Regions from separate parts of the Homo sapiens genome. Here region 2 is linked to region 1. Evidence: promoter capture Hi-C in human tissues and cell types (Jung and others, 2019). All regions are on one chromosome and are shown on one strand. The core of a region is centred on a gene start or on the middle of the fragment in contact, and the rest is flanking DNA. Distances in the headings are between cores, read along the strand shown.

Region 1 (5,591 bases), core at 1,981-4,480:
TGATGCCTCAGACGTATCTTTCAAAGAATGAGCCTAAGAGAGATCCAGCTGCCTTAGTGTGTGGGTGTGAGTGGGCATGGAGGAACCAGGCCTACCACCCTTGCTCCCTGGCTCCTGCAGAACAGGTGAAGCACACACATTTCAGCCCAGCTCAGTAGTCAAATGCTGTGTAGCACAGAGGTTAAAAGAACATGTTTGGACTCAGCCCTGTGTTTTGGGCCCAACTCTTACTGGCTGTGTAATCACAGGCAAGTTAACTAGCCTCTCTGAGCCTCAGTTTCCTCATCTATTAGATGATGACAATCATAATACCCTCTTCCCTCAGCACAGTGTTAAGGCACATGAAAACCGTAGTGCTGGTCAATGTTATTACTATTATTATGAACAAGAAAAAAATCGGAGGGGGCAGGGGCACCCTACTCAGGAAAATAAAAGAGGTAAGTCCCAGAGGAGAACATGAAGGAAGAGGAGAGATGCGAATCCCTCCAAGAGATTATCTTAGCACCTATCCACTAAGCACGTACTTACCGTGTGAAAAGGAGTTGTCAAACCAAAATGAAACTTAGTTATTATCTCAAAGGGGAAGAAAAGTCTTGTCCACAATTAATTCCCATCCAAGGCCAAACACAAAAGGACCATAAGTGGCCTACTAAGTGTTCTGCAAATCCAGAAAAGAAAGGAGAGTTCACTCCTGACTGAGGGCTCAGAAAGGCTTTAGAGAGGAAGCTGTGAAAGATGGCCAGGAGAGAGGGGACAGGTCATAGATGAGCAATAAAGATCCTCCACCCACAGCCATCCAGACAAACCTCAGTCACACTGGCAACCCCCCTGCCCCTTAGAGCCTGCCAACCATTGAAGAAGGCCAAATGCAACTGAAAATCAAGAGCAGAAAAACCTTATAGGGAGGTGAGAGTTATGCCTGGCTCCATGCACCCCGTTACTTCCAACACCCTTTCCCAACCAAACGTTTACACCCATGGTCCTAGCAAATCTCACTGGCAATTTGTCTTCTTCACAATCTAGTAGGCTATTGCTTTCTGTGGATGGGACAGTATCTAGTCCAACAGACTAAAAATTACAAATGGGTGGGGACCTCACCAGCTTTCCCCGAATTCCATTTCCCTTAGCCCCTGTTGTGGCTGATTTCTGTGTGCATTGTCTACGACTGAGCTACCCAAACCACCTCCGCATGCCCACTCCCCAAGGACAGGGCCTGGGTGGGGCACAAAACCCTGTCCAGCTCACTACTCCCAGGAGGCTCACTATCTAGTACACCATCACCAACCCTGTACTTAGAACCTCAGGCCCTGAAAGGTTAAGGGGACAACTCAGAATCAGAGCTGCCTGGCAAATACAGAACAGCCCCAGGAGAAAAAGTTTGATTGAAAAGGTCAGAGATGGCAGCCCAGTAACCCAGCCAATCAGAGGGCAAATGAAAGCAATATACCTCTGGGGTCATCGAGCAGGTGGCCAGAACACCAGGCCAGAGCCAACCCCCACCAAAAAGGGCCAGCCCCAGGAGAGGAGAAGCTGGGGGAGGCTGGAACTGGTATCCTAGCATCCTATGTGTGAGTCTGTACCTCAAAGGAACCACACCTCTGAGTCAGACCTCAGCAACAGCAGGAAACAGAGGGTAGAAAAAGGCACGGATGAGGAGCAGGGGAAGGCAGCACCGAGGTAGATGAGGAAGGTGAAAGAAGGCAACATTAAGAACTGGCCTGTGGGCCAGGCACGGTGGCTCACACCTGTAATCCCAGCACTTTGGGAGGCCGAGGGGGTCAGATCACCTGAGGTCAGGAGTTCAAGACCAGCCTGATCAACATGGAGAAACCCCGTCTCTACTAAAAATACAAAATTAGCCGGATGTGGTGGCGCATGCCTGTAATTCCAGCTACTTGGGAGGCTGAGGCAGGAGAATCGCTTGAAGCTAGAAGGCAGAGGTTGTGGTGAGCCGAGATCGCGCCATTGCACTCCAGCCTGGGCAACAAGAGCAAAATTCCATCTCAAAAAAAAAAAAAAAAAAAGAAATGGCCTGTGTCAGGACATCATGATAAAGACATGGGTGTTCAGGGGTGGCTGGCCTGCAGGCTAAGAAGGAACAATAATCTGACAGTGAGGACAAATTCCCAATTTGAAGATGGTGTAGCTTAGGAAAGGCAGAAATCCAGCACTGGTGCGAAAAGAAAAAAAAAAAGGAAAAATGCAAAGGTTATCCTAGGATTAAGAATAAGGGTGAGGAGCCTACTCAGATTAGGAAAGGTGACTGGTCTAGGATGCACTTGGGTGACAGTTAGGAGGGCTTTGATACAAAAGAGGCCTTTAAGTCAGGAGACCTGATATTGCAGCTGGGCCTCCAGCAGGCTGTGTGACCTTGGACAAGTCCCTTGCCCTGTCGGGGCCTCAGTCTCCTCATCTGTACCATTAGGGATTGCACTGCATGCGCTCAGAGGTCCCTTCCAGCACCAACGTTGTGAGGTTCCATCAACAGAAGGGCTCAGTCCTGCTTACAAGTTTGTGTGTGAAGGAAGAACTAGAGGGAGGGGCCTAGGCCAGATTTGGGTGGAGGAGAGAGAAAGCAGCGCTGTTCTAGGTCAGGGGCTTGGCATGGAAAGAGAAGGGGCCGTAGGGGACTGCGGGGCGGCTGTCCCAGGCGGGTAGGAAGAGGAGACAAGGGGCTGCTCAGGGCGGGGCGAGGGGGCAATTCTGGAGGAAGGTGCAGTTTCAGATGAGGGGCTGCCCAAACCGAAGGGGGATCGGGGCCAGGGGTGATGGGGGGGACAGAAAAAGCAGGACAGTGACCTGGGAATGGGGCAGATCTGGAAGAAGGAGGTTACCCTGGGCCGGGGGTAAGAGAAGGGAAGAAGGGAGGGAGGTGTATGTGGGGGGAGTCTCTCCGGGGCAAGGTGGGGGAGCTGTCCTAGCTGCGGCACAAGCTGGGGGTGCTGCCAGCCGCGGGGGCGGAGGGCTGGCCCCAGGAGTCCTGCGGGGGCTGGACGGGAGGGTCAGTCTGGGGCTGTCCCGGGCCTGGCTCCGGCCCCTCCCAGAGCTCCGCGCAGGCTCCAAGGCGGCGGTGGGGGAAAAAGGGCCACGCTCACCTTCTCCTTTTTCAGTTTATAGGGCATCTCGGCCCGTCCGGACCCGGCCCGTCTCCTGCGGCCCCGCTCCGGCTCCGGCTTTGCTCGGCCGCACTCGGCCCGCTCGGCGTCTCTTCGCCACCGCCTGCGCGCTGCGCCCGGGTCGAGCGGTGCCTGCGCCTCCAATTGGCCCGAACTCCTACAAAACTGCCTGACAACCAGGCGCCGCCTCCTCGGATTGGTCATTGGAGCCAAGCTGCTTCCTTTTTTTCTTATTGGAAAGAAATAGTACAAACCGCCAGGGTTCGGCTTCCAGAATTGGCTGAAGTGGGTGGTCCCGCCCTAAAGTGGGTCGAGCTTAGAGAAGGAGGCGGGGATAAGGGGAAACCCAAGCTTGGCTAGGAGGGCTGCACTCCAGCGTCTGCTGTGCGTCGGCCTCGGCCATTCTTCGCGGCGCTTGGAGCCCTGCTCTTTCCTTCTAAAGGCTCTCACACTTTGCCCGCTCTGCTACCCTGTCCAGTCGGAATTGGAGGAAGGAAGCCCTAATACGGAGGGCACCTTTCTTCACTGGGGTAAAGTAGCCCTAATTGCAGATGCAAAATTGATGGAGGGAGCTCCCAAGGACCTTCCAAGACACCCGCCTCCCTAGACAGGGGTTGCAGAGGAGCAAAGGGGAAGCCTGGCAGGGCTAGGACCTGGGCGAAATGAGTGGAGAATCCCTGGCTTGGTGCAACTTTAGGAAGAGGGTCCCCGTTGCTACTGCAAGTGTACTGGGATTGGGGAACCAGCTAGATTTGAGCAGTTGGGAACGCAGTGGAAAAGCAACTTCATTGTTGACTGTCTCAGGAAATCCATCCCTTACTTGCCACCCTGCTCAAGTCCGTGTTCTAATGGGTAAGACTCAGTTTATGCCCACAAAGAGTTCGCAGTCTGGTGAATCACAGATGTGTATAAACAAAGGATTAAGAGAGAATGTAAACCAGGCAGGCACGGTGTCTCACGCCTGTAATCCCAACACTTTGGGAGGCTGAGGCAGGAGGATCACCTGAGGTCAGAGGTTCGAGACCAGCCTGGCCAACATGGCGAAACCCCGTCTCTATTAAAAATACAAAAATTAGCTGGGTGTGGTGGTGCACGCCTGTAATCCCAGCTACTCGGGAGGCTGAGGCAGGAGAATCACTTGAACCCGGGAGACGGAGGTTGCAGTGAGCCGAGATCACACCACTGCACTCCAGCCTGGGCGACAGAGCAAGACTCTGTCTCAAAACAGCAACAATGACGACAAAAAGAATAAACCTGTGGCCAGGCTCGGTGGCTCACGCCTGTAGTCCCAACACTTTGGGAGACCAAAGTGGGCAGATCACGAGGTCAGGAGTTTGAGACCAGCCTGACCATAGTGGTGAAACCCCATTTCTACTAAAAATACAAAAATTAGACAGGGTGCGGTGGCTCACGCCTGTAATCCCAGCACTTTGGGAGGCCGAGGTGGGCGGATCACGAGTCAAGAGATCGAGGCCATCCCGGCCAACATGGTGAAACCATGCCTCTATGAAAAATACAAAAATTAGCGGGGCGTGGTGGCGCGCGCCTGTAGTCCCAGCTACTCGGGAGACTGAAGCAGGAGAATCACTTGAACCCGGTAGGAGGCTGAGGCAGGAGAATTACTTGACCCCGGTAGGTGGAGGTTGCAGTGAGCCGAGATCATGCCACTGCGCTCCAGCCTGGGCGACAGAGCAAGACTCCGTCTACAAAAAAAAAAGAAGAAACCTGTGATGCAAAGGCATGAGAATGATACAATGGAGGCCGGGCGCGGTGGCTCACGCCCGTAATCCCAGCACTTTAGGAGGCCGAGGCGGGCGGATCACGAGGTCAGGAGATCGAGACCATCCTGGATAACACGATGAAACCCCGTCTCTACTAAAATAATACAAAAAAATAGCCGGGCGTGGTGGCAGGCGCCTGTAGTCCCAGCTACCCGGGAGGCTGAGGCAGGAGAATGGCGTGAACCCGGGAGGCAGAGGTTGCAGTGAGCCTAGATCATGCCACTGCACTCCAGCCTGGGCGACAGAGCAAGACTCCGTCTCAAAAAAAAAAAAAAATACTACACATTGGGTACAGTATACACTGCTTGGGTGATGGCTGCATCAAAATCTCATAAATCACCACTAAAGAACTTATTCATGTACAAAAAATAAATTTTTAAAATTCTATATAAAATAAAATATTTAGTCTTAAAAAAAAAAAAGGTCAGGCGCAGTGGCTCACGCCTGTAATCCCAGCACTTTGGGAGACTGAGGAGGGCGGATCACCTGAGGTCAGGAGTTCAGGACCAGCCTGGCCAACATGGCAAAACCCCGTCTCTACAAAAATACAAAAATTAGCCAGGCATGACGGTGGGTGCCTGTAATCCCAGCTACTCAGGAGGCTGAGGCAGGATAATCCATTGAACCCGGGAGGTGGAGTTTGCAGTGAGCCGAGATCGCACCATTGCATTCCAGCCTGGGCGACAGGGCAAGA
Region 2 (5,591 bases), core at 1,884-4,383, 230 kb after region 1:
AGAGGAGATGCCAAAGAAAAGAGAGATTAAAAATCCTGAAGAAAGAGGTGACTGGGCCGGGCGCGGTGGCTCACGCCTGTAATCCTAACACTTTGGGAGGCCGAGATGGGTGGATTTCCTGAGCTCAGGAGTTCAAGACCAACCTGGGCAACACGGTGAAACCCCATCTCTACTAAAATACAAAAAAAAAATTAGCCGGGCGTGGCGGCGTGCGCCTGTAATCCCAGCTACTTGGGATGCTGAAGCAGGAGAATCGCTTGAACCCAGGAGGCGGAGGTTGCAGTGAGCTGAGATCACGCCATTGCACTCCAGCCTGGGCAACAGAGCAAGACTCCATCTCAAAAAAAAAAAAAAAAGAAAGAGGTGACTGGTGGCTCGAGGTCCCAGGCAATGGAAGGAAGAGGACAGAGAACCCTGGTGGGAGCTTTGCCCTGAGTGAGAAGGAGAGAGACAAAGAGGTGGGTCTTCACAGATAAGTTAGAAGTGAGAGGGGAGGCATGTGGAGGTCCTATCTGGCCACCTCTTTTCTGTGAAGAGTAGGTAAGGTCATCTGCTGACAGGCAGTGAGGGTCTTGGGGAGAATGGTGTTCACTTCTAAAGAGTTTTATAGGAAATGCATGAGGGGCTGCAGGAGTCAAGCCCAGACTCTTCAGAGACACCACCTTCCAGGGATACCCCAGCTCCTGAGGAGTAGGCTCTTCACATGAGCTTTTCCCCTCTGACCTGCCCCAAATCCCATTGTCTTCTCTTGAGCTGGTCTCCTGCTTAGATTGCCCCACCTGGGAAGCTCTCATTCATTCCCAACTTCATTCTCCAAGTATTTGCTCAACATCCACACCATACCCAGCCCCATTTCTCTGGACAACACTCTCCCTATTCCCCCAGGGTTTTCAAACCTTCTGCACACTTTCCAGACCCCCTACCTCCACCCTTTTCTCCTCATACTCAGCATGAGACCTCACTGTCTGCTTTATAGAGGACGCAGAAACTATCAGAGTCATCTACCAACTACCATACATTTTCCTGCACCTGTACTCCCCTTTTCCTTTTCTATAAAGAAATGCTGATGCGGCATTTTAAAATTGCAGTTTAACTTAGGGAGGTCTTGATCAGCTGTTTTTGCTTTTGTTTAGAGACAGGGTCTCGTTTTGTTGCCCAGGCTGAAGTGCAGTGGCACGATCATGGCTCACTGCAGCCCCAACTCCTGGGATCAAGCGAGCTTCCTACCTCAGCCTCCTGAATAGCTGCAACTATAGGTGCATGCCACCATGCCCAGACAATTTTTTAAAACATTTTTTTGTAGAGACAGGGTCTCACTATGTTGCCCAGGCTGGTCTCAAACTCTTAGCCTCAAGCAATCCTTTTGCCCCAGCCTTCCAAAGTGCTGGCATTACAGGCATGAACTGCCATGCCCAGCCTTGATCAGCACATTTTAAATGCAATAAATAGAATAGAAAATAGGGTCCACTGCACATAGTAAGAGTATTTATTGTTTCTTAAAACATCTGTTTCAATTATGACACATCTGTTACTATGAGTTGACGTCAAAAAGTCTATGTATGGCACGGTGGCTCACACCTGTAATCCCAGCACTTTGGGAGGCCGAGATGGGCGGATCACAAGGTCAGGAGATCCAGACCATCCTGACTAACACAGTGAAACCCCGTCTCTACTAAAAATACAAAAAAATTAGCCAGGCGTGGTGGCGGGCGCCTGTAGTCCCAGCTACTCGGGAGGCTGAGACAGGAGAATGGCATGAACTCGGGAGGTGGAGCTTGCAGTGAGCCCAGATTGTGCCACTACACTCCAGCCTGGGCAACAGAGCAAGACTCCGTCTCAAAAAAAAAAAAAAAGTTTCTGTATGTTAGCAAATTCTCATTAAAAACTTCAAACACGGCCTGTAATCCCAGCACTTTGGGAAGTGCTCATGCCTTCCCATGAAGTGTAGTGGCTCATGCCTGTAATCCCAGCACTTTGGGAAGTGCTCATGCCTTCCCATGAAGTGTAGTGGCTCATGCCTGTAATCCCAGCACTTTGGGAAGTGCTCATGCCTTCCCATGAAGTGTAGTGGCTCATGCCTGTAATCCCAGCACTTTGGGAAGTGCTCATGCCTTCTCATGAAGTGTAGGGGCTCGTGCCTGTAATCCCAGCACTTTGGGAAGCTGAGGCGGGCAGATCACCTAAGGTCAGGAGTTCAAGACCAGCCTGGCCAACATGGTGAAACCCCATCTCTACTAAAAATACAAAAATTAGCTGGGTGTGGTGGCGCACACCTGTAATCCCAGCTACTCAGGAGGCTGAGGAAGGAGAATCACTTGAACCCAGGAGGCGGGGGTTGCACTGAGCCAAGGTCGTGCCACCGCACTCCAGCCTTGGTGACAGAGTGAGACCCTGTCTGAAAAAAAACAAACAAGTTCAAACAACAGTGCAATAGAGAGGATGTCCCTCCTCCTATCTATAACTACTCCTTGCACCTGTGTTTTAAGTACCATTTCCTCCAGCTTTTCCAGGACCCTTACGTGCTTTATGTCTTCTCTCTTGTTAATTCCTACTCATGCTTTCCCGTTCAGCTCAACCCCCTCTGAAGCTTTCCATGACCATCCCAACAAGGCAACCCCCACCACTAGTGGGCTCCTTGTAACTCTTTCTTTTATAGCAATGATTGGCCAAGTGTAGTAGCTCATGCCTGTAATCCCAGCACTTTGGAAGGCCGAGGCAGGAGGATCCCTTGAAGCCAAGAGTTCAAGACCAGACTGGGCAACACAGCAAGACCCTGTCTCTACAAAAACATTTAAAAATCAGGCCAGGCATGGTGGCTCATGCCTGTAATCCTAGCACCTTGGGAGGGTGAGGTGGATGGATCACCTGAGGTCAGGAGTTCGAGACCAGCCTGGCCAACATGGTGAAACCAGTCTCTACTAAAAATACAAAAAATTAGCCAGGCATGGTGGCAAGTGCCTGTCGTCCCAGCTACTCGGCAGGCTGAGGCAGCAGAATCACTTGAACTTGGGAGGCGGAGGTTGCAGTGAGCCGAGATTGCACCACTGCACTCTAGCCTGGGTGACAGAGCAAAACTCCGTACCCCCCCAACCAAAAAAAAAAAAAAAAAAAAAAAGTCAGCTGGGGGCAGGGCACTGTGGCTCACACCTGTAATCCCAGCCCTTTGGGAAGCAGAGGCAGGTGGATCACCTAAGGTCAGGAGTTGGAGACTAGCTGGCCAACATGGCAAAACTCTGTTTCTACTAAAAATACAAAAATTAGCCACACATGGTGGTGTGTGCCTGTAATCCCAGCTACTAAGGAGGCTGGGGCAGGATAATTGCTTGAACCTGGGAGGTGGAGGCTGCAGTGAGTCAACATGGCGCCACTGCACTCCAGCCTGGGAAACAGTGAGACTCAATCTAAAAAAAAAAATTAGCTGGGCACGGTGGCATGCATCTGTAGTCCCAGCTACTCAGGAGGCTGAAATGGGAGAATTGCTTGAGCCCAGGAGTTTGAGGCTGCAGTGAGCTATAATTATGCCACTGCACTCCAGCTTGGGTGAGAGAGAGACCCAGTCTCAGCAAGCAAAGAACACATTTTACATGTTTTTGTGACTATTTGCCCAAATTAGGCCTTCTTAAGGAGGACAGGGACGATGTCTGTTTTTATCCACCTTGGCAGTCTTAGGGCCTCCCTGGCTCAGTGCTGGGCACAGTTAGTGCTTAATAAACAGATGTTTAGATAAATAAACACGTGCCAGCCTATGTGCTAGACGTTAAGTGTACAATGATGAAAAAAGTTTCAGAAGGTCAAGGGCGTTGAGGCAGAGGAGAGCGCCAGGGGCAAAGGCAGAAGGAAAAGGCTGCTCCTGTCCTGCTTCCCAACAACAGGACCTGCCTGCACAACTGTCACCTTTCACTGTCTTCCTGCCAGAAAGTAGCCAAGGTAGGAAGATTTGCCTAACATTTGATAATTTTGATGTGCACAGCTCTTTAATGAATGCTTTACATCCCATATATAGTCAAGACTTGCTGAAAGATGAATAGGTGATGCTTCTTTCTGGCATCAAACTACTAGAAAAAGGGGCTTGGCCGGGCGCGGTGACTCATGCCTGTAATCCCAGCACTTTGGGAAGCTGAGGCGGGCGGATCATCTGAGGTCAGGAGTTCAAGACCAGCCTGACCAACATGGAGAAACCCCGTCTCTACTAAAAATACAAAATTAGCCCGGCATGGTGGCGCATGCCTATAATCCCAGCCTCTTGGGAGGCTGAGGCAGGAAAATCGCTTGAACCCAGGAGGCGGGGGTTGCGGTGAGCCAAGATCATGCCACTGCACTCCAGCCTGGGCAACAAGGGCAAAACTCCGTCTCAAAAAAAAAAAAAAAAAAAAGAAAAGAAAGAAAAAGGGTCCTTTTATTTGCCTGGGTGTGGCTGGTATCTTCCACCAGTGCAGGGTCCCTGACAAACTCCAGAGAACACCGAAGGGCCTATTCCTTTATTGTTTACCATACCTAAAGACTGTTTTCCTTTGCTTAAATGCTTTCACTACTTACTTCTTGAGGCATGTAACTACAATCATGAGATTCCCTTTGTAACATTAAAAGATCAAATAAATACAACAGACGTTTAAAATTTAACAAATACTGTATAGAGATGCAACCAGCAAAATGCAGACTGTGGGAAACTCTACTGAACAAATGACCAAGCTGCTTCAACAAAACAATTTAGAGAAAAAGGAACCCACACAGTGAAAGTGATTTAAGGCTCTCCACCCAGGACACGGGTCCTCCCACGCCTGAGGCCAATGCTGCCAGGACCTTGGGGTTGGAGGGGGACTTGGCTGACCACATCTTTCAAATAAAGCTGTTTGTCTAACTAAAAAAAAAAAAAAGTGATTTAAGGGACACAATAACTAAATGCAGTGTATGGAACTTGTTTGGATCCTTATTCAAATAAAATAACTTTAAAAAAAGGAAACTGGGCAAGGGGAGGGGGAGCATTAGGACAAATACCTAATGCATACGGGGCTTAAAACCTAGATAACAGGTTGATAGGTGCAGCAAACCACCATGGCACATGTATACCGATGTAACAAAACTGCACATTCTGCACATGCATCCCAGAACTTAAAGTATTAAAAAAAAAAAAAAAAAAAAAAAAAAAAAAAGGCCGGGCGCGGTGGCTCACGCCTGTAATCCCAGCACTTTGGGAGGCTGAGGCAGGCGGATCATCTCAGGTCAGGAGTTCAAGACCAGCCTGGCCCAACATGGTGAAACCCCATCTGTACTAAAAATACAAAAAATTAGCCAGGCATGGTGGTGGGCACCTGTAATCCCAGCTACTCAGGAGGCTGAGGCATGAGAATCACTTGAACCCAGGAGGTGGAGGTTGCAGTAAGCCGAGATCGCGCCATTGCACTCCAGCCTGGGCGACAGAGCAAGACGTCGTCTTGAGAAAAAAGCAAACGTATATTATGGGATAATCAGATGTGAATATAGACTGGCAATCTGCTATTGAGAAAATATTTTCTATGCTTTTTTGGAGTGTGGTGACGGCAATGTGGCTGTCTTAAAAGGGAAGTGGCCAGGCGTGGGGGCTCACACCTGTA

The links. Contacts are between HindIII fragments. The study calls those that stand out against the background at their distance.
Region 2: a fragment that was not itself captured here is called in contact with the fragment with the promoter of PPP2R5D in region 1 in 1 of the 25 tissues and cell types used here (IMR-90 fibroblasts).

What each region holds. Positions count from the first base shown.
Region 1 is chr6:42,982,209-42,987,799 of GRCh38, reverse strand. It overlaps PPP2R5D (protein phosphatase 2 regulatory subunit B'delta), which reads right to left and starts at 3,230. Exons shown (of 16, transcript NM_006245.4): 1 at 3,096-3,230. The coding sequence starts at 3,122. LOC124900215 (a long non-coding RNA gene) reads left to right here and starts at 3,486. Exons shown (of 2, transcript XR_007059580.1): 1 at 3,486-3,968. RefSeq lists silencers at 2,872-3,021, 3,112-3,181 and an enhancer at 3,332-3,451. The HindIII fragment of the contact is 19,136 bases long and covers 1-4,788 here.
Region 2 is chr6:42,750,437-42,756,027 of GRCh38, reverse strand. It overlaps a transcript of BICRAL not described here and the pseudogene LOC124901226. Among named protein-coding and RNA genes, the nearest start is that of TBCC, 7.1 kb to the right of the region's middle. The HindIII fragment of the contact is 4,090 bases long and covers 1,089-5,178 here.